6 separate regions of the Homo sapiens genome follow, and all the other regions are linked to region 5. Evidence: promoter capture Hi-C in 16 types of primary human blood cells and fetal thymus (Javierre and others, 2016). All regions are on one chromosome and are shown on one strand. Each heading gives the region's core, a stretch centred on a gene start or on the middle of the fragment in contact. The rest is flanking DNA. Distances are from core to core; before and after follow the strand shown.

Region 1 (2,713 bases), core at 126-2,625, 450 kb before region 5:
GTGGCCTATTACTGCCACTTTTTATACAGAATCTGCCTTCTTAGGAAGCAAATACAGAGGAAACCAGATCTAAGACAGTAAAGAGGTAGATATCTAACAACACTGAGATTTGAGATTTTCCATACAGATTAAACCATACTTGATTTATCCCCTGGACTTTTCAGTTTCTTGAGCCAATTAATAGAGTCTCTTTTTGCTTAAGCTAGTTTTAGTTTCTATCACATATAACTGAAGAATCCTAACAAATATGAATGTGTAAGTCTGTTTGTCCCAGTATGAATCTGAGCCCTCCCTTCTGTATCTTCCCCTTCAGAGCAATGGCTGCCAATCAGTCAGCCATGGCCATGCCATCTCCAGCAAGGTCTGGAACTCTGCCCTAGGGACCCTCTTCCTTGTACATTCTAACTCAGCTGATTCCTGTATCTATTTCTATATTTCTTAGAGATCTCTTTACTTCTTACTAGCCAATTCCTTGTTACTCGAATCCCCAGTTATAGTTTATAACCTATTAAATGTTCTCTGTTTAAAGTACTATGTAGTTTCTTTTTTCTTTTTTTTTTTTTTTTTTTTGAGACAGAGTCTCACTCTGGTCGCCCAGGCTGGAGTGCAGTGGTGCGATCTCGGCTTACTGCAACCTCCACCTCCCAGGTTCAAGCGATTCTCCTGCCCCAGCCTCCCAAGTAGCTGGGATTACAGGCGTCTGCCACCACGCCTGGCTAATTTTTGTATTTTTAGTAGAGACGGGGTTTCACCATATTGGCCAGGCTGGTCTTGAACTCCTGACCTCAGGCAATCCACCCACCTCAGCCTCCCAAAGTGCTGGGATTACAGGCGTGAGCCACCCGCCCGGCTGTTACTATGTAGTTTCTATGGCCTAGCTGAATTTAGTTTATATCGGGTAACAGTAGCAAAACATCAGCACAAAATAAATAGGCTCCAGCATCTGTAGAAACAACCCACCCTAAAAGATGGTTAGTAAAAGTGTAGGTGAGAGTGTTCACTGAAGGTGACCAGAGGGCATCTTCAGGAGGCTGAGGTGGGTGGATCATGAGGTCAAGAGTTCGAGACCAACCTGGCCAACATGGTGATACCCCGTCTCTACTAAAAATACAAAAATTAGCCAGCATGGTGGCGCATGCCTGTAGTCCCAGCTACTCGGGAGGCCGAGGCAGGAGAACTGCTTGAACCCAGGAGACGGAGGCTGCAGCAAGCTGAGATCATGCCACTGCACTCCGGCCTGGGCAACAGAGTGAGACTCTGTCTCAAAAAAAAAAAAAATTGTATTTCAATCACTCTTTTGCTATACTGTTTCCAACCAGAAATGATGCACTTATTGGGAGGAAACTGGGAAACCAAGATAGAAATCAGATCTTGGATGGGTCATATTTTAGATAAGAGGCATTACAGTTTAAGACTCAGAAGGAACCAGACATGGTGGCTCACACCTGTAATCCCAGCACTTTGGGTTGCCAAGGTGGGAGGAGTACATGAGCCCAAGAGTTTGAGACCGCCTAGACAACATAGTGAAACTTCATCTCTATTAAAAAAAAAAAAAAAAAAACTGTCTCAATATTAATAATGGTTGTATCTATCTGGTAAATTGGAGTGGCTAGTTTACCATTTTTCTACATATTTTTCTTTCCTTTTTTTTTCTTTTTTTTAGAGACAGGGTCTCACTCTGGCACCCAGGCTGGAGCACAGTGGTGTCATCATAGCTCACTGCAGCCTTAAGCTCCTAGGTTCAAGCAATCTTCCCACCTCATCCTCCCCAGTAGCTGGGACTACAGGTGCACACCACCACACCTAGCTTTTTTCTCTTATTTTTATTTGTATTTTTTGCTTTTTGTTTTTGAGACATTGTCTCACTCTGTTGCCCAAGCTGGAGTACAGTGGTGCAATCTTGGCTCACTGCAACTTCTGCCTCCCAGGTTCAAGCGATTCTCTTGCCTCAGCCTCTTAAGTAGCTGGGATTACAGATGTGCGACACCATGCCCAGCTAATTTTTGTCTTTTTAGTAGAGACAGGGTTTCACCATGTTGGCCAGGCTGGTCTCGAACTACTGACCTCAAGTGTTCTGCCCACCTTGGCCTCCCAAAGTGCTGGGATTATAGGCGTGAGACACTCAGACCAGCCCCCATTTTTTTCTACATATTTTTCTAGCCTTCTGTAGTAAATATTATATAAGTTTATTTCATAGTGGGGAAGAGGGGAAAAAAGTATATACTGGGGGTTTTTTGAGGCAAGGTCTTGTTCTATTGCCCATGCTAGAATGGTGGCATACTCACGGTTCAGTGCATCCTTGACCTCCCAGGCTCAAGCAATCCTCCTGCCTCGGCCTTCCTAGCAGCTGAGACCAGAGGCATGTGCCACCACGCCTGGCTAACTATTTTTATTTTTAGTAGAGACAATGTCTTGCTAGGTTGCCCAGGCTGGTCTCAAACTCCTGGGCTCAAGTGATCCTACCACCTCAGCCTCCCAAAGTGGTAGGATTACAGATGAGAGCCACCACTTTTAGCCAAACTATATACTCTTAACAAAAAAGAAAGAAAGAAAAAAAAGCATATACTTTTTTTTTTTTTTTTTTTTTCCTGTGAGACTGAGTCTCGCTGTGTCGCCCAGGCTGGAGTGCAATGGTGTGATCTTAGCTCACCACAACCTCCGCCTCCCAGGTTCAAGCGATTCTCCTACCTCAGCCTCCCAAGTAGCTGCGATT
Region 2 (2,700 bases), core at 88-2,587, 330 kb before region 5:
AGAGTACATAGTTATAATCCCATTTATTTATGATTTAATTATTTATTTATTTATTTTGAGACAGAGTCTTCCTCTGTCACTCAGGTTGAAATGCAGTGGCACAATCATGGCTCACTGCAGCCTTGACCTCCAGGCTCAAGCAATCCTCCCACTTCTGCCTCCCGAGTAGCTGGAACCACAGGCATGCATTGCCATGCCTGGCTAATTTTTTTTTTTTTTTAAAGCTAGGGCCTCACTCTGTCACCCAGGCTGGAGTCCAGTGGCATGATCATGGCTCACTATAACCTTAAACTCCTGAATTCAAGTCATCCTCCTGCTTTGGCCTCCCAAATAGCTGGGGCTACAGACACATACCCACCACACCAAGCTAATTTTTTTTTTAAGAGACAGAGTCTTGGCCAGGCGCGGTGGCTCACGCCTGTAATCTCAGCACTCTGGGAGGCCGAGGCGGGCAGATCACAAGGTCAGGAGATCGAGACCATCCTGGCTAACACAATGAAACCCTGTCTCTACTAAAAATATAAAAAATTAGCTGGGCGTGGTGGCGGGCACCTGTAGTCCCAGCTACTCGGGAGGCTGAGGCAGGAGAATGGCGTGAACCCAGGAGGCGGAAGTTGCAATGAGCTGAGATCGTACCACTGCACTCCAGCCTGGGCAGCAGAACGAGACTCCTTCTCCAAAAAAAAAAAAAAGAGACAGAATCTTGCTATCGTTGCCCAGACAAATCTCGATCTCCTGGCTTCAAGTGATCTGCTCGCCTTGGCCTCCCAAAGTGCTGGGATTATAGGCGTGAGCCACCATGCCCTGCTTACATGTATATTACACTTCATGGGCTTACTGAAAATACAAAGTGGGCCGGGGGCGGTGGCTTACGCCTGTAATGCCAACACTCTGGGTGGCTGAGGCAGGCAGATAACTTGAGCCCAGGAGTTCGAGACCAGCCTGAGCAATATGGTGAAACCCCGTCTCTACAAAAAATATGACAATTAGCCAGGCATGATGGCAGACACCTGTAGTCCCAGCTACTCGGAGGCTGAGGTGGGAGGATCGCTTGAACCCGGGAGGCGGAGGTTGCAGTGACTCGAGATTAAGCCACTGCACTCTAGCCTGGGTGACAGAGTGAGACTCTGTCTCAAAAAACAACAAAAAAAAGTGGTCCTCTCACCTAGAGCAGAGAGAGCATAAAGTGTGTTAATGTGAGAAAGCGTCGCTGCAGAGAAGACTGAAGTCAGTTCAGACTCTAGGCCCCAGCCCTTCCAAGTCTCTGAAGACATTATCATCCTCCAGTGGGGCCCTGTGCCTGGGTCACAGGCTGAGACCTCAGTGGGAAGGCTGAGAAAAGGGAACTGGTGGCTGGGGGAGGAAAAGGAAGCAGAATGTGGAAACTGTTATAAGCGAGCTGTGCTCACAACCAGAGGTCTAGACTTGGGGTAATTGCTGAAAGAAGGCAGGTAAAGTGGTGGGTTCAAGACAGGACATACTTTACCTATAAACCAAGCAAGGGATTTAACCTCTCTAAGTCTCCGATTCTTGTTCTTTTTTTCCCTTTATTTATTTATTTATACATTTTTTTTACACATTCTAATGTGTCATATTATTTAAAGTTACGATAATAATTACTTTTTTTTTTTCTGAGATGGAGTCTCACTCTATTGCTCAGGCTGGAGTGCGGAGGCGCGATCTTGACTCACTGCAACCTCCACCGCCTGGGTTCAAGCGATTCTCCTGCCTCAGGCTCCCAAGTAGCTGGGATTACAAGCATGTGCCACCACGCCCAGATGACTTTTTGTAATTTTAGTAGAGATGGGGTTTCATCATGTTGGCCAGGCTGTTCTCAAACTCCTGACCTCAAGTGATCCACCCACCTTGGCCTCCCAAAGTGCTGGGATTCCAGGTGTGAACCACTGTGCCTGGCTGAAAGTTGTGATAATAATTCTGAACCCACTGGGCTGCTGTGAGGATTCAGTATGAAACTGTGTATCTGTGGCTGGGCATGGTAGCTTACATCTGTAATCCCAGTACTTTGGGAGGCCGAGGCAGGTGGATCACCTGAGGTCAGGAGTTCGAGACCAGCCTGGCCAACATAGCGAAACCCCGTCTCTACTAAAAATACAAAAATTAACCAGGCGTTATGGTGCACGCCTGTAATCCCAGCTACTTGGGGGGCTGAGGCAGGAGAATCGTTTGAACCCGGGAGGCAGAGGTTGCAGTGAGCCAAAATCGTGCCACTGTACCCCAGCCTGGGCAACAGAGTGCGACTTCGTCTCAAAAATAAATAAATAAATAAATAAAAATAAAAGAAACTGTGTATCTGTGTCAAATTACGGACAACTCCAAAACATGTGTAGTATTGTGCTTTACAGAGGGGTCAGTGGTGCATCTTTGCCACCAGAGGGAGTGCTACCAACAACCTGTTAGGGCTAAAACCCTATAGAGAGCCTGCAATACCAACTAGTAGACTGGGATTTTGCAAATCAGATGCGGAGATGCAGAGGCCAAGGGTAGTGGCAGATGTCCCATCCTTTTCCTGGGCTACAGAAACCTGCTGGCCTCCAAACCGAGTCTGCGTCGTAACTGAATACAGCCCTGGCTAAATCGTCAGCCTGGTATGGGCATTGAGGGGCCCTAGGTCACCTGCTGGCCGTCCATCCTGAGGCATCTGCTCAGAGCCTCCTCCAGGAGGCGTGCTCTACCAGAAGA
Region 3 (2,700 bases), core at 144-2,643, 420 kb before region 5:
AAGAAAGGAAGGAAGGAAGCGTATCTCCATTTTCATCCAAACAGGTATTTTTCTCTGCTACTACGTACCTCCTCAGAGCCCATCCCCCCTACTGGTCTGAGGCTTTTTTTTAAACAACTTTCTGGACATAGCCCCTCTTAAGACTAACAACCTATAGCCAGGCGTGGTGGCTCACGCTTGTAATCCCAGGATTTTGGGAGGCCGAGGCAGGTGGATCACCTGAGGTCGGGAGTACCAGACCAGCCTGACCAATATGGAGAAACCCCATCTCTGCTAAAAACACAAAATTAGGCTGGGCATGGCGGCGCATGCCTGTAATCCCAGCAACTCGGGAGGCTGAGGCAGGAGAACTGCTTGAACCCAGGAGGCGGAAGTTGTGGTGAGCGGAGATTGCGCCATTGTACTCCAGCCTGGGCAACAAGAGCGAAACTCTGTCTCAAAAAAACAAAACAAAACAAAAAGAGTAGCAACCTAGGCCGGGCGCAGTGGCTCACGCCTGTAATCCCAGCACTTTGGGAGGCTGAGGCGGGTGGATCACCTGAGGTCAGGAGTTCGAGACCAGCCTGGCCAACATGGTGAAACCCCGTCTCTACTAAAAATACAAAAATTAGCCGGGCGTGGTGGTGGGCGCCTGTAATCCCAGCTACTCGGAAGGCTGAGGCAGGAGAATTGCTTAAACGCAGGAGGCGGAGGTTGTAGTGAGTGGAGATCGAGCCACTGCACTCCAGCCTGGGCGATAGAGCGAGACTCCGTCTCAAAAAAACAAACAAACAAATAAACAAAAAGACTAGCAACCTCCTCTCCAGCAATGCCAACCCCAGTCCAGGCCCCCATCCGCCCAGGATCTCGATCAAAAAACATTAATCTGTGGCCTTTCTTTGCCATTTCCAACTCTGCCACCTCCATCGAACGACAAGGTCCCCTTCTTCCTTTCCATTCCCGTCAGCTTCATTTCCCTAATCTCCGTACAAATCCCTAGCCTGACTCCCTTTCCTTTCCATCCTCACCAGACGCCCGCATGCCGGACCTCAAAAGCGCAAACGCTAAAAACCGGTTGAGTTGACGCACGGAGAGAAGGGGTGTGTGGGTGGGTGGGTGTGTGTTAGTGTGCGTGCTTGCTTGTGTGTGGAAGAAACCAACAGGGTTCACGCTGGTGCCCATTTCTGGAAATGCCAATCGCGCCCGACTGCGGGAGCCAGGATCAGGTCCCCAGGGCGCCCTTGCAGACAGCACCCTGAGCGAAGGAGCTCAGAAGGCAGTCCGGCTTCACCCAGACCCCCAATCCCACAGAAGCGCCGTCCCCCAGCGGCACAGCACCCCCTCCCCGGCGCGGTGGTAGGGCCCGACGTGACGTCACCCATTGTTTACAAATCAACCCGAGCCGGCAGGATTCCGGCTCCCGCGGCTGCAGGCGCGCGGCTAGAGTGCCTGGCGGGCTCCGGCTTCCGCGTCCGCCCCGGCCCCGGTCCAGACTTAGTCTTCAGCTCCGCGCCCGCTCCGCCGCGGCCCACCGCGCCCGCCGGCAGCCGAGCCCCCAGCGACGCCCGCACAGCTCCGGGTGCCCAGACAGGGGGCCATGCCGTGCCGGAGGGAGGAGGAAGAGGAAGCCGGCGAGGAGGCGGAGGGGGAGGAAGAGGAGGAGGACAGCTTCCTCCTACTGCAGCAGTCAGTGGCGCTGGGCAGCTCGGGCGAGGTGGACCGGCTGGTGGCCCAGATCGGCGAGACGCTGCAGCTGGACGCGGCGCAGCACAGCCCGGCCTCGCCGTGCGGGCCCCCGGGGGCGCCGCTGCGGGCCCCGGGGCCCCTGGCTGCGGCGGTGCCGGCGGACAAGGCCAGGTCCCCGGCGGTGCCGCTGCTGCTGCCGCCCGCGTTGGCGGAGACTGTGGGCCCGGCGCCCCCTGGGGTCCTGCGCTGCGCCCTGGGGGACCGCGGCCGCGTGCGGGGCCGCGCTGCGCCCTACTGCGTGGCCGAGCTCGCCACAGGCCCCAGCGCGCTGTCCCCACTGCCCCCTCAGGCCGACCTTGATGGGCCTCCGGGAGCTGGCAAGCAGGGCATCCCGCAGCCGCTGTCGGGTCCGTGCCGGCGAGGATGGCTCCGGGGCGCCGCCGCCTCCCGCCGCCTGCAGCAGCGACGCGGGTCCCAACCAGAAACCCGCACAGGCGACGACGACCCGCACCGGCTTCTGCAGCAGCTAGTGCTCTCTGGAAACCTCATCAAGGAGGCCGTGCGAAGGCTTCATTCGCGACGGCTGCAGTTACGTGCAAAGCTTCCCCAACGCCCGCTCCTGGGACCTCTGTCGGCCCCGGTGCATGAACCCCCTTCGCCTCGCAGCCCTCGCGCGGCCTGCAGTGACCCTGGCGCCTCCGGGAGGGCGCAGCTCAGAACTGGCGACGGCGTTCTTGTGCCTGGCAGCTAACACGCCCGGGGTGGCCACAGCGCCAGCCTCAGACTGGAGGGCAAGGGGTTCCCTTGAGGGCTGCAGTTCTACTCAGGCTGGTGGAGAACTCTGGCTTTTGGAAGCGAGAGTAAAAAGCTAATGACGAGGAACCGAAAAATCGCGAGTGTTTCGCGGGTAACTGGGGTTGAGGGCCAAAATATTTGGAATGAAGGACTTTGGCCCTATTTAAGGCAGATTTTACAGAGCGCACCTCAAACGTACAAGTCAGTAGGACTCCTTATTTGGCGTGACCCGACCTGGCC
Region 4 (2,700 bases), core at 72-2,571, 290 kb before region 5:
ACTGTTAAGAACATTCCCAACAATGACTGAATAGAAAGCCCCTTGAATCAGACAGCTTAAGTTACTTACTCAAAGCAGAATCAAAGTCAAGTTAGCCAGAACGTAACTGTTCTAATTCTGAATCCTCTTTCTATTGTGCTCCTTCAAATATTGCTTATATGATCCTGAGCTAATCCTGGATCTATCTCTGAAACTAGAAAGGTAGGTATTACTCACACATTCAACATTTATTGAGGAGCTGCCTTGTGCTATATACGGATGGTATGGTGGTAGGGCCTGCTTTCACGGACTTAGATTTAAGCAGGGGAGAAGTCTAGTAGGAAACATATACCTGAGTGTCTCATCATATGCTGACATAGTGCTTGGAAGAAAAGGAACAGAGTTTTTTGTGAGTCTTTAACAAAACAAACAAAAACAAAACACCCCACAAAACTCCTTTCCTCAATTAGTGGGTCCAGAAGGACTTCTCTGAGGTGATAGTAGAGAAGCTATCTAAAGGAGGTAGGAATTAAATAGGCCTAGGAAGATAGAAGCGTTCCAGATAGATGGCATGTTACAAAGGCTCTGTAGCAGGAGAAAGCTTGGCGCATTACCGACACTGAAAGAAGCTAGTATGTTATAAAAAATTTTTAAAGGGCAAGCAGAGACTGTGATTATAACTTTTAAACACAGAAAAGACAGTATGACTAGATTGCGTCAGTGAGGTGGAGATAGTGGCGCTAGATAAAGTCGGAAAGGTAAGCAACATTCATACAGTATGCAACTCACTGCTGGGCTGAGCTGGGCTGGGATGGGATACTGAGTTCGCATCTGCTTTTGTCCCAACTTCCCTCCCCGAGGGTCAGCAGCACAACCAAGCGAGATCAACACAACTAGTGTGTGGTGGCTAAGTGCACCACAGCGGCGATACGGCTAGAAGAAACTAAGAGACCAACATTGTACCACTGAGGCACTAAAGACGCGTCCGCAGTGCCCATGCCTAAGGACTGGAACTCAAGGGCAGCCTAAGGGAAAAACAGAGGGGAGATGGCATGCCGCTTCCTTTACCGCGCCATTCTCGCTGCTCTTCATCAGACAGCCGGCAAGCGACGAAAAGATGTAGCCGTGGCGGGTGTAGGTGCCGCTGCCCGGGCTGCCCTCCTCCAAGTTACACAGACGTTCGCCTGCAGAAAAAATGCTGCATCGGTCACGGGCCCCCAGAAGCTGTAGGCCGTTTAGCCTTCTTGCTTCAGCCCCTATCCAGGACTCTGTACGGGAAGCGCTCACTTACCGGGGATGCAGTATCTCACAGGTGGCGCCATGATTGCCGCTGTCCCAAAACCAGGATGAAAACGAAGTCGATTTCTCATTGGCCAAACCCAGGCACAGTTCCGCAGTAAGACACGTGTCAATTGGTACTCTTTATCCTTGCGAGTAAACTCCATTTCCCAGGTTACCCCGGGACAAATCCGGGGGCGGAACTTCAGAGGTCCACGCTGGCGCCTGCGCGTGTGGTTGAGGATGGGCTGGCGGCGGGTCCGGGTCCGCTGCCTGGCGCTGCGGGCGGCGGGCCATGGTGGTTTGGATTGAGCCGGGCCCGGCCGGGGCGCCGAGTCGGAGGGGGTGGCAGTGAGCGGCGGCAGAGGCTACGGGGCTCGGTTTGGCTGACTGGGGAGTCGGCAGGCGGCAGGTAAGGGCGAAGCCTCGGCCCTTGCTCCCCATCCTAGTCCCTTTTTCTGGGTAGGGCACTGCCCTGGGGCCTTGTCTTGAGTGCGGGTTCCTGCTCTCTCCTCGCCCCGCCCTGCGGGGCCGTGCCCTCCTCAGCCCGAGCGCACCTTCCGAGCAATCGTTACGCTCAGAGCAGGAGGGAAGGAGGTCAAGCGACCCAACTCGTCTGTTTCACAGATATGGAACCTCAGATTCAGAGACAGGGTTTGACTTGTCCAAAATGATCAAGATAGTTAAGATAGAGCCCAAACTGGAACCCACGGTTTTTGACTTCCAGTCCATCGCAGTTTCACCTCGCGGCTGTCATTGAGAAATAAAACCTTTTCCCGGTTTTTTTGTTTTGTTTTTGAGGAGTCTCGCTCTGTCGCCAGGCTGGAGTGCAGTGGAGCGATCTCTGTTCACTGCAACCTCCGCCTCCCGGCATCAAGCGATTCTCCTGCCTCAGCCTCCCGCGCAGCTGGGACTTACAGGCGCGCGCCACCACGCCCAGCTAATTTTTGTAGTTTTAGTAGTGACGGGGTTTCACCATGTTAGCCAGGATGGTCTTGATCTCTTGATCCGCCCGCCTCGGCCTTCCAAAGTGCAGGGAGTACAGGCATGAGCCACTGCCTCCGGCCTTTTCCCGGTTTTTTAAACTGCAGCTTCCAGTCCTGCGGTCCGATCCTCTTCGCGGCCCCTCATCCCCACTTCAGTAAGCTTTCTCTGGTTGAAAAAGCCGAACTCTGGTTGTGTGGGCCCGTCATCAAAAGATAAGCAGCCCCAAAATAAAGTTGTTACTCTTTTTCTTCTCAGCGTGTTAGCCCAGAAGGGAGGTCTGCACATGAATAAAATGCTACTCTTTATTGATGTTGGGTATCTCCTACTTGAGATTGCAAACATCCTGAGAGCAGCGTCTTTGTCCAGATGACATTCGCCACGACTTTGATCTCAGTTCACCTGACTTCTGATGGCTTTGCCGTCTGTCCTTCCCTGTCCCCTCAGTCGACTTTCCCA
Region 5 (2,700 bases), core at 201-2,700:
AGTGCCTTGAGTCAGAAGAAAGAAGGGTAGCAAAAGGAGCCCCAGCATTTGAGGGGTAGGAAGAAAAGCCCTAAGGAGACCTTGAAGGTCGGAAAGAGAGGAGAGGGTGGTGTCATGGAAGCTAAGGTGGACAATGGTGCCAAAAAGGAAAGAGATTCCAGTGCTTCTGAGGTCATCTGCAAGGAGGACTGGGAAGTGTCCATTGGATTTAGCAGCCAGGATGTCACAGGTGAGCAGGCAGGTAGCCCAGAAATATGGAGGGGAGCAGGACCACAGTGCAGTGAGGAGTGAATTGGGCGAGGAAGCAGCGGTAGAGAGCACTTCACAGTGAGTCTTCCAACTCATGTAGGAAAGAGGGGGTAAAGTTAGGCTAAAGGAGAAATTTTCCATGAATTTTGTCTCTAGAATGATGATTAAGAGTTAGCGAGAGTCAAGATTTCAGGCCTGTTAGAGCAAAGCCCTAAGGAAATAAGAGTTGGACCCTGGAGCACAGCTAAGTCCTGGCTGGAGGGATGGGCCTGTCTTTCTGAAAGGAGATAATGGAGGAAGAGATGCAGTTAAAGCTCTGTGGCTACTTGAAGAGGGAAGTGATTACTTCCAGCTGGGGCACTCAAGGAAGGGATACAGACATTTGAGTGCCAGGGGCATTTGAGGGTAACAGTGGAGGGGTTCAGTTGGCCAAAGTTAAAGGCAGCTGAAAGATGGCAGGAGACAAGACCAGGAAATGCAGACCAAGGTGGGTGGTGGTATGGTTGGGGCGTTGGGGTCAGATGACACATAAGCTTCAAATTCCAGCTCCCATTTGCTTCTTAGCTGTGACTCTAAAGAAGTTCCTTAACACGTCTGAGATTCCCCATCTGTAAAATGGCGACAACCCTAATAGGGTCGTTGGAGGAGAACTAGATAATGTCTAAAAAGAGCTCAGTCCGGTTCAGTGCTTGGCTCCTCTGTACCTGAGCGCTAAGTCACTAATATAAAGCCATCGGATGTGTGCTTTAAGGGAAATTAACTGGGCCACACGGTGTGAAGTGAACTGAGCTGGGAGAGGCCTGCACAGGACCTTGTACACACTAGCTACTCCGGAAACAACTGCATGCTCTGCTGGGCATCTCATACAGGATACGGTGTCTTTCCGGGGCTCACACACAGTCCCCAGTTCAGTTCCAAAGTTGGAAGGAAAGAGGATGAAGACGTAAATTCTTCATTTAAGCCTCTCGCCAACTGTTCCCTGCGGCAAGGCAGGGCAACGAGCTGCAGGGTCGCCAAGCACGTGCTTCCAAGGGTCCTCAAGGCTTTGTGAACGGCGGCCGGCCAAGGACAGAATTAACTCCAGCCTGGAGCGCGCGGGAAAGACGCGCAGGCGCACTGCTGGCAAGGGTGCTTGCCTGTGCTGGGGTGGGCGGAGCTAAACCCGGAGCGGGATGACGTCATGAGGACGCAGCCGCAGAGCGATTCGCGTCCCGGAAGCGGCGGTGGCGGCCGCGGCGTAGGCGGAGGAGATTTTCGGACCTGCGACTTCCGAACAACCCTGGCAGGAGGAGCGGCGTTCAGCCGGGGGAGGCCTGAAGAAACGCTCCGGGGCCCAGTGGCTCTACCCCTGCTCCTGCCCGACCCTGCCGCCTCCCTCACGGAGCCAGCGGCCGGGTAGGTGAGGTGCCGTCCCCCCGCGTCCCAGTGTCTCCGCAGGCTGTGTGTAGTTGGGTGCTTGGGCGCAGCGGGGGCCGCCACATGCTGGCCCCACGACCTCGGGCATGGCCTTCCCTGTCCAGCCTCACGGGCTCCATCAGGCCCCCCTGGCTGCAGAGGTGTTGGCCAAGGCCAGTGCGGGCGTCGATATACCTCGCCCCTTCCTGGGCTCATACCTGGCGCCGCTCTGTGCCCTTTCGCCTTGGCTCGGCCTGCGGGGATTTCGGGGTCCCGTTGGCCCCTTTGTCCCATCCCCTCACCCTCCCATCAGGTCGCGGCTGATTGCCTGGGACTGGTTTATGTTGCTCTTCGCCGAGGTTCCGCCCCCTCGTTTGCTGCTTAGAGTTCAGGATAGGACTTTGAACTGGGAAAGACCGTAAAGGCTCCTCGGTTTCCTCATCAGAAAGGGCAGACGGGAATGGGGCGTTCTGATGCCGACTGCCCTGGGGCAGAGATGGCCCAGGAAGTTGTTGGGAACCGAAGGGAGTGGGAAGAGTTAGAGGATCGGGCGAGAGTCCTGGAGCACGGTATTTCATTCACTCATTCAGCAGGCATTTGTTAAGCACCCACTGTGTACAGAAGCAGTCGTGAATGGAGGCCAGTTAAGAGCAGGGAGTTTTACTTTGACGTGGTCAGTGCTCTGCACTTGATCTTAGCCACAAGGCCAAGAAGCGATGTGATGTGATAAGTGCTCTGTTAGGGTGAGTACGTGATCCTTTGGGAGCATCGGAGAGGGTCTCCCAGTCCAGAGTTGGGGGTGTTGGCAGAGACTTCCCAGAGTAAGGGAGTGATGTTTAAGCTGATACCTGAAGGATGAGTAGGAATTAACCAGGTAAAGAGTGGGAGAAAAATGTTCCAGGACATCATTTCATTTCAGCCCATGGGCTGCCTCGCTGCAGCGATCATTTATGCTTGGTTTTTATGATTTTTAGTTTTGATGGATCTTTGGGGAAAAGAGCATTGGATGGAGAGTACAAAGAACAGGATTTTAGGTCTGAATAGTTCACTTTCCCT
Region 6 (2,752 bases), core at 251-2,750, 310 kb after region 5:
TCCCGGAATCTTAAATCTAGAAGAGGCCCTGGAGTTTAGCTAGTCCAGTTCCCTCAGTTTATGGTGGAAAAAGAGAGGCCAGAGGAGAAGAGGCTTTGTGTGTAGCCAAGATGAAAATAAAAGTTGGATCTCCTGATTTGGGGTTCTGCCTTTCCTCCTCTATTTCCACTCCCACAATTAGTTGGCTTCCCAATTCATCATTTTTATTATTTGAGACATGGTCTTGCTCTGTCACCTTTGCTGGAGTGCAGTGGCGTGATCACAGCTCACTGCAGCCTTGACCTGCCTGGGCTCAGGTGATCCTCCCATCTCAGCCTCCTGAGTAGCTGGGACTACAGGCATGCACCACCATGCCCAGCTATTTTTTTTTTTTTGGACTTTTTGTAGAGAGGGAGCTTCACCATGTTGGCCAGTCTGGTCTCAAACTCCCAGGCTCAAGTGATCTGCCCACCTCAGCCTCCCAAAATGGTAGGATTACAGGCCTAAGGCCCTCACCCTAATTATTATTTTATTCATCAAATATTTATAGAGTTCCTACTATGCACTAGGTCCTGTGTTAGGCCCTGGGTCATTGTAGAGGCTCTTGGCACATGTGGGACTATGGTCAAAAGTTATCATTCGAATGAAATATGCTTATTACAATGGATATATGCTGAATAAATGAATAAGTCAGGAGACACCACGTGCTAGCTCTGACTCTAACACTGATGCCTTGGGTCTCCTTTGCCATTCTCTGTAAATGAAGCTTCCAGGCTGATATGCAATGCAAAGACTTAGATTAAGACATAAAGTCTTCAAATTTTAGAACTAGAAAAGACTTTGGCAGGCAAGTGATGTGAAATTTTAGAGGGAAAGTGATCCCTTTGAAAATCAAATGAGATATGGACTCCTTTATCTAAATACACAAAACACTATGCATACAAATGCTGGGGATTCCTAGAACATTTGAAGCCTATTTGTGGACTTCCTAGCAATCCACAGGCCAAGAACCTCACATCTGGGCTAACCTCCCATTATTTGGGGTGAGAAATCTGAGACTCAGAGAAGGGAAGAGAAGCCCTACATCTCACAGCAAATCAGTAGCAAAGTCCATGCCTGAGATCTGGTTCCGTGCTCTCCCGCCACAGACCCCTGACTTACAGGAAGCACATGGAATATGAGGAAACCAGTACTGGCTCCCGGGAACACAGAACTTCAGGATGTCACATGCTGATATTTATTTTCTGTTAATATCTCTCAGGGACAGACAGAGTGGTTCAGACAACCAACTCTGTTTCCAGTGCGAGGCTATATGGCACCTCTGGATGCCTCCTAAAATTGGGCAGTTGGAAAGCTCCAGAGATGGACTGGCAGAGCTGGTGAGTCAAGGATGGAGGGAAGCAGGAAGCAGAGGAGAGTCTGGTGGTCTGGGTACTCAACAGCGAGGCCTCAAGGACAGTCAGCTTCCCTCTGTCCACTGGCTGGTCCCTGGAGTTCAGGGGGCTCTTCTGCCATGGGGCAGTGGTGCACGGTAAGGCAGAGCCTGGTCTCTGGCTATCATGGAAAGAACTAACTTAGCATAGTGCCTGAGAGCAGGGGCACTGGTGCCTCCCTGCTAGGGTTTAGAGTCATGTTGTTCTACTTCCTGGCTGTGCCACCTTGGGCCAATAGCTAACCTCTCTTCCTGATCTCTAAAGTGGGGCCTGTGATGCCTTTACACCATAGGCTTGTGAGAATTACATGAGTTCGTTCTTGCAAAATGCTTAGAACAGAGCCTGACATATAATAAATGCCATACAAATGTATGATAATTCAGGGCATAAAATCCATACTTCCTCAGGCATCAGTTTTCCTCTGCTGGATTCTTTAGAACAAGCCACTACACTTCAAAAAAAGTTACATTTTTAAAAAATCAACTTTATCAAATTATAAATTATATGCAATCATATGTAATAATATGTACCTATTGTAATTGTACATTCAGACAAATTAGTTTTGGTAAATGTATGCATTTGTGTAACCACAACCGCAATCGGGATATAGAATGTTTTCATCACCCCCAAAACTTCTTTTCTGTCCCTCGTCCCAGTCAATCCTCCTTTATCTCCATCTCCAAATGATCATGAAATTTGCCACCAAAGGTTATGGTGGCACATCTCTGTCAATGTGCATTCGCTGGGCACCAAATATATGGATGTCTCCCAATATATGTATGCATTTGTTATATAATATATATTATATATGTCCTGCTATCAGTCTGTATCATACCCACTAGGAAAGCTTACTTCATGTTTTTTTTTAGATAAAAATAAACACAAGAAAATTATTAAGCAAATGGTTAAGATGAGAACCATTGGTGGATTGGTGTAAAGGGAATACAAGAGTTCTTTTGTACAGTTCTTGAAAGTTTTCTGTAAGATTAACATTGTACCAAAATGAAAACTTACAGCAAATTGACCTAAGCAGCAGCCGGTAGAGCTATTGTTGGGCACTTTGCACACTGTCCGTTCTCAGAATCCCCTGGAAAGTTTCTGAACCCTGCCAAAGCCCAGGCCTCGCCCCAGCTCACAGGAATCAGAAGCTCCAGGGGTGGAGCTTTGGGCATCCACTTGGCTCACAGTGAGGGAGCCAGGGTTCCTGAGGGCCATGGGCCTTGGCAGGAGAGGACTCCCTTCAGCTGGCTGAGTCCACACTGGCCTTCAGAGTAAAATCGGCCAGGCTTGAGTTTGGCTAGAGAAGAACTTGCTCAAGTCGTGGGGCAGATGTGTTTGTG

The links. Contacts are between HindIII fragments. The CHiCAGO score rates a contact against its expected background, and 5 or more counts as called.
Region 1: a fragment that was not itself captured here is called in contact with the fragment with the promoter of ZFYVE27 in region 5 in 1 of 17 cell types (neutrophils); the score reaches 6.8 in neutrophils.
Region 2: a fragment that was not itself captured here is called in contact with the fragment with the promoter of ZFYVE27 in region 5 in 3 of 17 cell types (naive CD4 T cells, naive CD8 T cells and non-activated CD4 T cells); the score reaches 7.1 in naive CD4 T cells.
Region 3: a contact is called between the fragment with the promoter of FRAT1 here and the fragment with the promoter of ZFYVE27 in region 5, in 5 of 17 cell types (neutrophils, non-activated CD4 T cells, fetal thymus and 2 more). The highest score is 11.8, in neutrophils.
Region 4: a contact is called between the fragment with the promoter of EXOSC1 here and the fragment with the promoter of ZFYVE27 in region 5, in 3 of 17 cell types (neutrophils, naive CD4 T cells and naive CD8 T cells). The highest score is 6.3, in neutrophils.
Region 6: a fragment that was not itself captured here is called in contact with the fragment with the promoter of ZFYVE27 in region 5 in 1 of 17 cell types (M2 macrophages); the score reaches 5.3 in M2 macrophages.

The regions. Positions count from the first base shown.
Region 1 is chr10:97,282,290-97,285,002 of GRCh38, forward strand. All of the region lies in intron 1 of ARHGAP19 (Rho GTPase activating protein 19), which reads right to left. All of the region lies in intron 1 of ARHGAP19-SLIT1 (ARHGAP19-SLIT1 readthrough (NMD candidate)), which reads right to left. Among named protein-coding and RNA genes, the nearest start is that of ARHGAP19, 9.0 kb to the right of the region's middle. The HindIII fragment of the contact is 3,036 bases long and covers 1-2,713 here.
Region 2 is chr10:97,404,939-97,407,638 of GRCh38, forward strand. No RefSeq gene overlaps it. Among named protein-coding and RNA genes, the nearest start is that of RRP12, 4.9 kb to the left of the region's middle. The HindIII fragment of the contact is 7,850 bases long and covers 1-2,700 here.
Region 3 is chr10:97,317,878-97,320,577 of GRCh38, forward strand. It overlaps FRAT1 (FRAT regulator of Wnt signaling pathway 1), which reads left to right and starts at 1,394. Exons shown (of 1, transcript NM_005479.4): 1 at 1,394-2,700. The coding sequence starts at 1,577. The coding sequence ends at 2,416. RefSeq lists enhancers at 708-1,497, 1,235-1,529, 2,619-2,700 and silencers at 1,369-1,678, 2,179-2,278. The HindIII fragment of the contact is 4,234 bases long and covers 1-2,264 here.
Region 4 is chr10:97,444,685-97,447,384 of GRCh38, forward strand. It overlaps EXOSC1 (exosome component 1), which reads right to left and starts at 1,322. Exons shown (of 8, transcript NM_016046.5): 1 at 1,271-1,322; 2 at 1,048-1,163. The coding sequence starts at 1,301. ZDHHC16 (zDHHC palmitoyltransferase 16) reads left to right here and starts at 1,491. Exons shown (of 12, transcript NM_198046.3): 1 at 1,491-1,669. RefSeq lists enhancers at 451-1,031, 1,032-1,611 and a silencer at 1,543-1,752. The HindIII fragment of the contact is 1,823 bases long and covers 579-2,401 here.
Region 5 is chr10:97,735,678-97,738,377 of GRCh38, forward strand. It overlaps ZFYVE27 (zinc finger FYVE-type containing 27), which reads left to right and starts at 1,451. Exons shown (of 13, transcript NM_001385875.1): 1 at 1,451-1,644. RefSeq lists an enhancer at 1,167-1,316 and a silencer at 1,647-1,716. The HindIII fragment of the contact is 3,622 bases long and covers 781-2,700 here.
Region 6 is chr10:98,047,862-98,050,613 of GRCh38, forward strand. No RefSeq gene overlaps it. Among named protein-coding and RNA genes, the nearest start is that of CRTAC1, 19 kb to the left of the region's middle. The HindIII fragment of the contact is 1,514 bases long and covers 744-2,257 here.